2 separate regions of the Homo sapiens genome follow, and region 2 is linked to region 1. The links are contacts of gene promoters, found by promoter capture Hi-C in human tissues and cell types (Jung and others, 2019). All regions are on one chromosome and are shown on one strand. The core of a region is centred on a gene start or on the middle of the fragment in contact, and the rest is flanking DNA. Distances in the headings are between cores, read along the strand shown. Region 1 holds the start of EIF3M (eukaryotic translation initiation factor 3 subunit M). Region 2 overlaps KIAA1549L (KIAA1549 like).

Region 1 (5,597 bases), core at 2,301-4,800:
TACACATTGCATACATGTATCAAAATATCACCTGTGCCCCCAAAATACATACAACCACTACCTATCTATTTAAAAGTCCTGTAGTCTGAAATTCAAAACATATAAATACAGTCAGCCTTCTGTATCTGAGGGTTCCAAATCCTCCTTGCCTCAGATAATGAGGGACGACTCTATAATTCACAAGAAAAATTTAAAAGATTTTATTAGGAAATATTAGAAAAAAATTAAAAACAAACCTTTATCATCCTCCTTCAGACACACATCACAGGCTTCAATAATTTGAGCTAAATCAACATGAAGTCCACCTTCCGAGTTCTCTTCTGAAATCTCAGCTCCTTTAGATTTCAGATAAGCACGAAGCTCAGCAGCCTGTTGAGGATTGCTCTATTATAAAACTGACTACGAATGACAAAGCACAATCTCAAATTCTGTCCTCTTTCTGAAAAACTAAAACGGAAATACTGTATTCAACAACTATTTCAAATAATGTTGAAGACCCCTCCCTCACCTCATCCATCTTGGCAATCCCACAAGAGCCACAGGTTTTCCTCCATGAGGTCCAGTGGCTCCTTAGACACACTACAGCCCCCATGGATCACCTTCAGAATTTCTCTCATGTAGTCTGCACCCTGCTGGACTTCCAGCATACAGCAAAAATCTTTTTGATAATATAACCCAAAGGGTTTGGTGGGGGTGTGGTTGCTGGGGAGAAGAAATCAATCTGACTTGGCAGATTTCATTTTTTTGAAAGAAATGAACAATAGTATTGCTCTCAAGTACACACATAACCACAGCTACTAGAAAAGTTACAGACATTACCTTGGCAAAAGGGTAATCATTTGTTAATCAGTTGAGAAGCTATTTGAGATAAGCATTTTGGTTCACAAAAGGGCAATGCGGTGAATGCTGCCTTAAAATTACATCGAACTGGATCTGTTATGTAACTAATCTCTTAAAATTAAAAATGCATATCTGAGTCAGCATGCATCTTCGGACCTATAAAAACACAACTACAATAGCACATTCAGTCACTTGGACATTTCCTACCCTACTACCGAATTATATATATTTATTCCATTTTTCTTCTGGGACTCTTTATGGCAGCCAAACAAACGCAGTTTTTTTTTGTTTTGTTTTGAGATGGAGTTTCACTCTTATTGCCCAGGCTGGAGTGCAATAGCATGAGTGCAATGGAGCGATCCCGGCTCACTGCAACCTCTGCCTCCGGGGTTCAAATGATTCTCCAGCCTCAGCCTCCCAAGTAGCAGGGATTACAGGCATGCGCCACCATGCCCAGCTAATTTTGTATTTTTAGTAGAGGCAGGGTTTCATCATGTTCGTCAGGCTGGTCTCAAACACCTGACCTCCGGTGATCCACGGGCCTCGGCCTCCCAAAGTGCTAAGATTATAGGCGTGAGCCACCGTGCTCAGCCTGGTTTTAAAGATAATAAAATGAGGATGTGCAACAGGAATATGAAAGGATACCATTAGTAAATGCACAGGCATTACATTTTCTAGACCAAGCCAAAAAAAAAAAATTCAAAGCCATCAAGATTTTTAAACCCCCAAGTATATTTAGTTGCCTCAGGAAAGTATTAAACCTGCAGATCTGACGGTACTATCCTTTCAGGTAACAAGAACACAGTAACTTCATAGAAGAGTTGGTATTATAAGCAAAATTAAAAAAAGAAAACAAACTGTCACCATGTCAGAGAAAACAAAAATACCTCCAGAAATCATGCTTCATGCTTCTCTATGGAGGAAACAGATACACAGCAAACTTTTTCTAAGAACTATTGAACCACGTTTGCTGTTTTTCTGTCATCCTCACTGCCACAAGTGGTTGTGGAAGCAGCATAAGCAAAGGAAAACAAAAAAAGATAAAGAATTCCATTTAACTCTAATCAAGCTGAGAATTTCACCAAAGTTAAACTAATCCTGAGCAATTTCATATTTCCCTGAAAGGACTGTCTACAGCGATACTGATGTTACAAGAACAGAAGCAGAGCCTGAGAAAAGACACTTTAAGATACGATCAATGACAAGAACTTCCTCCATTCACTTTGTATGTTAAAAAAAAAAAAATTCCAAACACTTTCTCAGTTAACCTAACAGCCAACTGTTGGTAACATGCTTCCATTTCTAATCAGGTATCTTTTTGTCTTTCATATCTTCCTATCTGTGCTTAACCTCCCCATCCTTGACCTTTTCTCCGCCTTTTGCATTTTCCCTTCTTACTTTGCTCTTCAGAGCATCGGAACTGCATTCCTACCATGGGGCGGGGGGAGGAGAGAGGGGGAACTCACTCCCGCAATTCTGTAAGTTGTCTTAGACAAGTAAACTTCCATGCGAAGTTTATGATATCCAATCATTTGGAAGTTACTTCCGTGTTAGTGGAGTAACAGAAATAAAACGACAAAGTTAGGACTTCACAGAAGAATTTTCAGCAATACAAAATTAACTTAAAGAATACGATGTCGTGTTCAACTCCTACCAAATAAGGTTAAACTTTTGTTATGGGGAAAATGAGAACCATCAGCCCTGTATACCAAAGAGCAAACGCCAAACGGGAAATTTAAAAATATCAGGATGGTCCATCAGGTGTATGCCTCACAGAATTTAAGAGCTGAACTGATACCATACTTCCGGGGTACAGAACAACTCTCACCCTCATACAAGTAGGAATAGAAAGCAAGTGTAAAATACGGGTCGTCTTCGCCTGTGATCGCACAGTAATACGGGCGTTTTGATCTTTTTTTTTTTTTTTTTTTTTGAGAGGGACTCTCGCTCTGTCGCCCAGGCTGGAGTGCAGTGGCGCGATCTTGGCTCACTGCAAACTCCGCCTCGCGGGTTCAAGCGATTCTCTTGCCTCAGCCTCGGCAGTAGCTGGGACTACAGGCGCGTGCCACCGCGCCCGGGTAATTTTTTTGTATTTTTAATAGAGACAGGGTTTCACCGTGTTAGCCAGGATGGTCTCGATCTCCTGACCTCGTGATCTGCCCGCCTCGGCGTCCCAAAGTGCTGGGATTAAAGGCGTGAGCCACCGCGCCCGGCCCGGCATTTTGATCTTTAGCACAAAATTACTTTTCCCTACCCTGCTTATGCTAACTACAGATTCACCACCTCCCACTCCGAATGTGGCTGCATTTGACGGACGGAAGCAGACATCATTCCTCATCAGTCTAAAAGTACTATGTCGTCAGAAATGAGTCCCGACGCCGACCAGGGAGCTGGCGGTGAAGCGTCGGGCCCCGCGCTGGGACCGCCGGCCGGCGAGCTGGTGCGAATCGAGGCCAGGAACGCGCGCCCCAGCCACCGGCCTCCCCATTCTCGCGTGTAGAACAGCTGCGGGTGTCAGCCCCGGCCGCCCGGCCCAGGCTCGGCAGCGGTCCCTTGCGCTACTAGGACATCCCCCACCCCACCGTGGCGGCACCCGTAGACCGAAGCACACCTGATCTTCTTCACTGATGTCGATGAAGGCCGGGACGCTCATGGTGCAGGCCCGGGCACAGCGGACACTCCACTCGCAAGACCACGCCGACCGGAAAAGGGAACTGGGCCGCGCGACGCTGCTGGCGCAACTGCTTCCGGGTCACCCTGAGCGGCGACCTGTTGGGGCGGGGCCTTGAGAGCCAATCCTATCGCGCGCTCTCGCCGCGGAATGCAGCAGGGCGTGGCAGACGCGCTCGGGCTGGCCTAGTGGGTGGGACTTACTGGGCCTCCACTCAGCGACGCTTGTCGCGGCCTCCAGTTTTCAGGCCCGTGTAGCTAACTGCATTGATGTTGCCTCCCGCTGGCGCCTCCCTAAGTCCACCTTCCCTTGAAATGTTAAGCTTGTTGGGTCTTACCAAGTATGGATGGGTTTGTGTAGACCTGAAACTCTCCTGTACTGCTGTTGGGAACATAAAATGGTGCAGTCACTTTGCAGAGGAGCGGCAGTTTCTGAAAAAGTTCAGTATCCACCCAGCATATGACCCAGCTATTCTTCTACCCAAACTGTATGTCCGTACAAAGACTTGTACAAGAATGTTCATTGCCGCTTTTAAAAAATAGCAGCTTTGGCTGGGCGCAGTGGATCTCACGCCTGTAATCCCAGCACTGTGGGAGGCCGAGGTGGGCGGATCACTTGGGGTCAGGAACTGGAGACCAGCCTGGGCAACATGGCAAAACCCCGTCTCTACTAAAAATACAAAAATTACCGGGGCATAGTGGTGCGCGCCTGTAATCCCAGCTACTCGGGAGGCTGAGGCAGGAGAATCACTTCAACCTGGGAGAAGGAGGTTGCAGTAAGCCCAGATCATGCCACTGCATTCCAGCCTGGGCGACAGAGCGAGACTCCGTCTCATAAAATAAATACACAATTCAGTAGTTTTTAGTATTTTCAGAGTTGCACAACCATCACTACTATTTAATTTTAGAACATTTTCATCACCTACAAAAGAAACTACCCATCAGCAATCACTCCCCAGACCCCCGGCCCCACCTCTCTCCAGCCCCTGGCAAACACTACATTTTGTCTCTATGAATTTGCCTTTTCTGGACATTTCATGTAAGTGGAATCACAAAATACACGGTGGCCTAAGTCAGACTTACTTCATTTAGCATAATGTTTTCAAGGTTCGTCCATGTATCCCTCCTATATTCCTATTTATTGCTTATAATATTGCATTGTTATGGATATACCACATTGTGTTGATTTGTTCATCAGTTGGTGGACACTTGGGTTGTCTCCATTTTTTGGCTATTATGAATAATGTTTCCATGAACGTTAGTGCACAAGATTTTGTGTGTACGTATATTTCTCTTAGGTATGTACCTATGAGAGGAATCAGTGGCTTATTTAGTAAATTTATGTTTAGCTTTTTCAGGAGACAGTTTCCAAAAAGTTAACACTTTATTTTCAATAGCCAAAAAAAAGGAAACAACCCAAATGTTCATCAATAGATGAATGAAGTGGATCAAAAAATTGTTATACATCTGCTTAATGGAATACTGCTGTGCAACAAAAAAGGATGAATTATTGATACATGCAAAAACACAGATGAATCTTTTTTTTTTTTCAGTCTCTTCAGCCTGGGTGACAAAGTGAGTGAGACTCCATCTCTTAAAATAAAAGCTTGATTTTTTTTCTTTAGTTGACAATCCCAAAATAATTCAAAATAATTTTGTTCAGTTAATCATCATACTGTATGATTCCATTTATATAAAACTCTAGAAAGTAGAAACTATAATGACAGCATTATAGATTGCTGTTGCCTGGGGGCAGGGATTGGGTAAGGCGGGGGGAAAGATGGATACAGAGGGGCTTGAGGAAGTTTTTGGGGGTTATGGATGTGTTCATTATTTTGACTGTGATTGTGTCATGATTGTATACATATATAACATTTTTCAAAGTGTGCAGTTCAAAAATGTGCAGTTTATTGATACCACAATTATACTTCAATATAAAATAAATGCCAAGCAAAGGAAAAAAACAAGGTTGAGGGGATAGAGGACACAAAACATCTGGCTAGACTAAATTTGAAAGGATTCATTCTTGCATGGAATAGCCTTAACAATGTGGAAAGTGAAACTGAAGGCAGGGAACCTGTGTCATG
Region 2 (5,597 bases), core at 1,961-4,460, 1.0 Mb before region 1:
GAGGCTGAATGAAAAGGTGCAGCATGAAATTTGGTTTTCTTATGCAAGAGCCTCTAAAACAATTGAACAATACAATGTCCCTTGATCTGGAAGTTGCACCATTAGGTAGGTGATAATTATAATCTTCATTCAGCTCTGAAAAAGCAACTGGTTTGAAAATACCATTAAGCTGATGGACAATTATGGTTGTTTGCCCAAGTATTTTTTTTTTTAATGGCTTTAATGTTACTCTCTTTCAGACTCATTATAGAGCACCTGCTTGCACAGACCAGCGTGGTACAAATCAGTGGACTGCAAAGATCACAATCCTACAGTACCAGATAAGGAACCAGGATATACTGCCCAAGGCCTGCCCTTATCCCACCAATGATACAGCACCCTTTACAGAATCCCTTAGAGACTGCACCTGTTTTTAGACTCGGTGAATGGAGCACAGAGTTCTGAATCTGGATCCAAAACATGCTCCATTTCCTTCGGGGCTTTTTCATACATCTTCTTTCTTTCGGTCAGACCCTTGCTCGTCTCCACTGCAGGGAAGTCGTAATATCCCTTCCTCTTGGCTTTGAGGCGCAGCTTGTTCCGATAGTGCTCGATGTCTGACTTCTGCTTCAGGGCTTTGTTCACCTGGGGAGAGAGGCAGTCTCAGGCCCAAACCTGACCCAGTGGGGCCGGCAGGTGGGAGACTTTCACCAGGAGGTTATCACTTCTAAAAAAGCCATCACAGGCATCACCTCCGGGCCTCTGAGCTAGCCAGGCCCACCTGCATCCCATTCTGAGACAAGCCCACAACAGTAGACTATAGATACTGTGGAGCCTGGCACTCACCTGAATCACCTGAGACCTTCCTCCAAGGCCTCCTTCTCCCTAGTCTGTCCTGTCTCTGTTCAGGCCTAGGCCTGACTCCGTGCTCTTAGCAATGTGGCTCGGCCTTAATTATGCCTATACCCTTTTGGTTCCTCTGTGTGGGTGCCTCCGCCAGTTCTCAGTGCCCTGAGTCTAGCTCCAGTCCTGGGGAACCCAGTGGCCTTCGCTGCCCTTCAGCTGGTGTCCAGCTAGATAAGAGAGCAAGTTCCTGAAGAGGCTGAGCTGGGACGGACAGGGTGGAAGGGGAAGCAGCTGCTCCCAATGCCTTTCCACACTGTCAACCTGCATCTGACAGCATGTTTTTGTAAATCCATGCCTTTCTTGAGAGATATGTAATTTTGAAGCCTTGTATGGCCACTAACATGAACCAGGTCCTGCCCTATAGGGCAAAGGCAGTCTGGTCTTTCAGAAGGGAACGTGGCTAATGTACCTTGCAAACTGTTGGAGATATAAGCAGGTGACTGTGCTAAATAAGTAACAAGTGATGAGAATGTCACACCAACGTTTCCGAACTTTCTGTTTTTATTATGCTTTCTTAAAAATAATCTTTAAAAGAATGTCGTGTAATTTACAAAAGAAAAACGTATGGCTTCTGGGTTGTGCTTTCTTCATTTAAACCAGCCACCCACAATAGAAGGAGGAAGAAAATTACAAGACAATCTGTGTCAGGCTCCACAAGGCAGCAAATTATAGAGAACAGTTCAGGGCTCTCTTCCAATCCAAATGCCAGCAAGGTCCATTCCTTTAACTACCAAAATACAGCATCCATTTCTGGACAAGGAAGATGCTGATTTGCTCTCCTTCTTTGACAAGGTGATGGGCCTGGGAGGAAAAGGGGGTGATAAATTGAATCTATCCCAGATTTGGAATCTGTCTCTATGACATGCACATCATTAAGCTGGGATGAAAAGATCCAGGCCTAGTGGCCATCACATGTATCCATAACTGAGCAGAGGGTCCAAATCAACAGCAGTTATCAATGCATTAGTGTCAACCTCAGAGGCCTCTAATTATGGGGTTTGCATGTCTGCTGGCAGAATTGTGCCCAAGAGAAAATTCAGTGACTGTGACTGGTTTTGAGAAGACATTCAGATTCTCAAATTGTAGAGCCAAGGGGCATAAAATACATGATCTTTCTTCACTGGCTGTCTAATGGGTGGTGATAACAACAACAGTAATAATAATAATCATCATCATCATTATCATCATCATCAAAGTGCTTATTGTGTGCCAGGCACTAGTCTAAGTAATTTACATATATTAAACAATTTGATCTTCACAGCAGCCCTATTTTATAAACGGAGATACTGAGGCACAGAGAAATGAACTAACATGCTTAAGGTCACACAGTAAGTAAAAGATCTGAGGCTCAAACCCCTGAGGCATGGCTTGAGAATCCATACTCTTTTAAGCACAATGCTATTATTCTCTGGTAGGCTGTAGTAAGTAAAAGAGAGGAAAGGAGCGCTGGACAGGAAGTCAGGGGACCTCAACCTCATGGCTGTCACCATAACCTGCCGTGTGACTTTGAACAAGCCACTGGACCCCTCAAGCTTCAGCTTCTTGGTTTAAAAAATGAAGAGGCTGAAAGAGAAGTGCTCTGTACGTCCACAACCAGTTATTTTTTTTAAATCAATGAAGGTTTACCCATCACATCTTTAGGCCATCTCAGTCTTTCTGCCCAGAAAACAAGAGTTGCTTCCTGAGTTGGGTTTGTAAAATGCTTTTATAAGTGGCCCAGATGCTGCGTATTTACAATACCTGGTTTTGTAGGGCCATAGCATGTTCCTTGAGGTGTGATGGGAAAAAGACTAAAACTTTGGAAATCTCCCACCTCTTGCAGGTAAAAATAGCTGGGTATAAACAAATGAAATTAACAACCAACCTGACAGCTTAAGAACAGAGAAAAATTAAGAGCTTGTGTGTGTACATGCTTGGGCACACATGTAATGTAAATGTTCACATGTAGGGTCCAAATGCATCTTCTTAAAGTTCATAAACATTTGCAATCCACTGGCCATTCTGCTGCTGAAGATGAAGGAAATGCAGATAATTTTTACCTAACTTCTGGCATCTATCTATCTAATTTTCTTTGATGAAATCATCACTCTATGGTGAATGTTACAATTTTTTTTTTCAGACTCTTAGGAAAGTTGACTAACATCATGATATCCATTGATAGCTTTCTGGAAGCAGCCAATGAGTTGTTTCAAGTTTGCTCAAAGGAATAAATGTCATTTCAAAGTCCCCAGAGTGGCCCACATCCCTGTCCATATGACGTTATCTTCCCTGGTTCCCTCTCAATTCAAGCCCCTTCCATCCCCACTACAAGCAACATCCCACAATGGACAGTTTAGGAGTGTCACCAAGAAAGGCAAAAGGCTGTGTGTGTGAGGGGGTCGGGGAGCAGGACGCCTGATGCTTCTCTTCATAATCACATTTTTTTAACAGTTCCTTCTGGGCTTTTAATGAACATAGGAAGTGCTCTGAAAACATCACCCAACAAATTCTTTTTGGGTGACTTGTGTCCTGATTCATTCTGCAGAGGCCTGGTACATGCAGAGGTAAAAATGACCTATACGGCCCTAGGTGCAATCTGCACCCAGTATTCACAGGTGTTGTTCCTTCGTCCGAATTTCCCAAGTCTGGCCGGACCATCTCCTGCCCTGGGTCTCCAGGCACTTACCTCGCCGTTGAGGACTGCCGATGACTCCTGGCTCCTGTCCGAGGTGGGGGGCACCATGGGGAGGGCTGTGGGTTTTATGGCAATGAGCTGCACAGACCCAGAAGATGTGTCAAAGGGTTCAGCGGCCACCTTGCTGGAGTTGTCAAATAGAACCGCTCCCTCCTCTTCGTCACTCGCTGGCACTGAAGCACAACATAAACACATCGATTTTATGATGTTGGGGAGCTGTGTGATCCCAGGAGAATTTATGTTAGACTCACAGCCTAAGGACATTACTTTACTCAAAACAACCTCAGAAACGACAGCATCTGCTTCTGTGCCAAGGACTCGCTACTGCTAGCGGTTTTCCTTTAAATTTAAGATCTGTATGATTTATCCCTCCATTGCCTTATCATGGGTGGGAAAGAACTGTAGAGGTTTGAATTTAAACAGTAAGAACCATTCTTTCAAAACTATGACATAAGACAGTTGAAAAAAATTAAAAAGTAACTTCTTTCTCTATGTTTGAGTTGGAGGTGAGAAAAGTGAGTTTGGCTAAACCTTGTAACTGTCCTTAAAATCCGACAATCCTCAGACTAACAGCATTCAGTTCAGGTTCAGCCACCAATGCTACCAATCTTTACAAGATGTTAAAGTAGCAAGTCTTTCTTGGTCAACAAGCCACAGTTATAGTGGCTGACATTCTTTTTTTTTTTCCTCTTCTGAAGGTTGTTTCCCCAGTGATTTGGGTTTTGGTTTATTTGTCTAAAATAAAAGAAAGCTACGAAAATTCCGCCAGAGAAACTAATTTGAAGCTACAGACAACTCCCCTAATTAAGTAGAAGGATTTCTACCTACGCTCTGTTAAATTAATCCTCCCTTCTGACAGATAATTCTGCTGCAATTGCTAAAAGACACCAGTCTGCCTTGAGCTTCCATAACTAAGCTGACAGAAGTTCCAGGGCCCCTGGTATCTTGCTGATTTACTTGTTCTTAAAGCATATTCCCATTAAGTAACTATAAGAAAGACAGCTTATTGAGCATGGCTAGGCAAGAGATACATTAAGCCTATTCAAACAACTAAACCAGCAGACAATTTAGGAGGAAAAGAGGTGTTATATAAAATATGAATGTAATAGCAGTGTATTCATCTTTCCTCCTGTCTGCTTGAGAGATTGGGATGTTATTTAAATTATTGAGAAACACATAGTTTGTATCATTCTGTCACTTATCATAATCACAGAAGATTTGTCAAATTAAGCCAAGTAAATTGTTATTTTTACAAAGTGGCTAAAACACTTCAGAGTCTAACAATGGGTTATAATTGGATTTTTTTTTAAGTTCTGTGGGCTGATTTGCAAATAGCAGGCCACCAAGCAGCCAATGACAGAGGAAAATCTCTATTTGAATGTGTTACCAGATGCATCCATATTTTTAGATGTAGTTTTGCTGGGCAGCTCTGGCCTGGCCACCATTATCTGCCTCCTGGACACTTGCTATACAAGCCATCTATGAAAGCCAGCCAATAAGGTGGCTCCTAAGAATTCTCACCCCCTGATATTCATACCCAGGATGAATGGGACTGACCTGTGTAACCAACAGGAAACTACAGAAATGACAACGTGTTACTTCCAAGGCTTAGTTGTAAAAAAACAAAACAAAACAAAACAAAACAAAACAAAACAAAACAAAAACTCATGACTTCCACCTTGCTCTCTCTCGGATCACTTACTCTAAAGAAAGCCAGCTGCCACATTCTGAGGACCTTGAAGCAGTCCTATGGAAAGGTCCATGTGGCAAGGATCTGAAGCCCCCTGTCAAGAGCCATGAGTGACCATCCTGCAAGCCCCAGTCAAGACTTTATTTTTTATTTTCATTTTTCTCTTTTTTAAACTTCAATAGCTTTTGGGGTTCAAGCGATTTTTGGTTACACAGACGAATTCTATAGTGGTAAATTCTGAGATTTTAGTGTACCCGTCACGTAAGTAGTGTATCCTGTACCCAATATGTAGTCTTTTATCCCTCACTCCCCCCTCACCCTCTCCTCTGTCCCCAAAGTCCATTATAT

The links. The method cuts DNA at HindIII sites, captures the fragments that hold promoters and counts their contacts. A contact is called where the count stands out against the background at its distance.
Region 2: a fragment that was not itself captured here is called in contact with the fragment with the promoter of EIF3M in region 1 in 1 of the 25 tissues and cell types used here (mesenchymal stem cells).

What each region holds. Positions count from the first base shown.
Region 1 is chr11:32,581,784-32,587,380 of GRCh38, reverse strand. EIF3M (eukaryotic translation initiation factor 3 subunit M) reads right to left here and starts at 3,550. Exons shown (of 11, transcript NM_006360.6): 1 at 3,452-3,550; 2 at 237-369. The coding sequence starts at 3,493. RefSeq lists silencers at 575-674, 3,705-3,764 and enhancers at 3,395-3,544, 3,187-3,839. The HindIII fragment of the contact is 6,597 bases long and covers 1-4,475 here.
Region 2 is chr11:33,604,776-33,610,372 of GRCh38, reverse strand. KIAA1549L (KIAA1549 like) reads right to left here. Exons shown (of 21, transcript NM_012194.3): 14 at 3,551-3,732; 15 at 407-624. Among named protein-coding and RNA genes, the nearest start is that of C11orf91, 93 kb to the left of the region's middle. The HindIII fragment of the contact is 4,708 bases long and covers 857-5,564 here.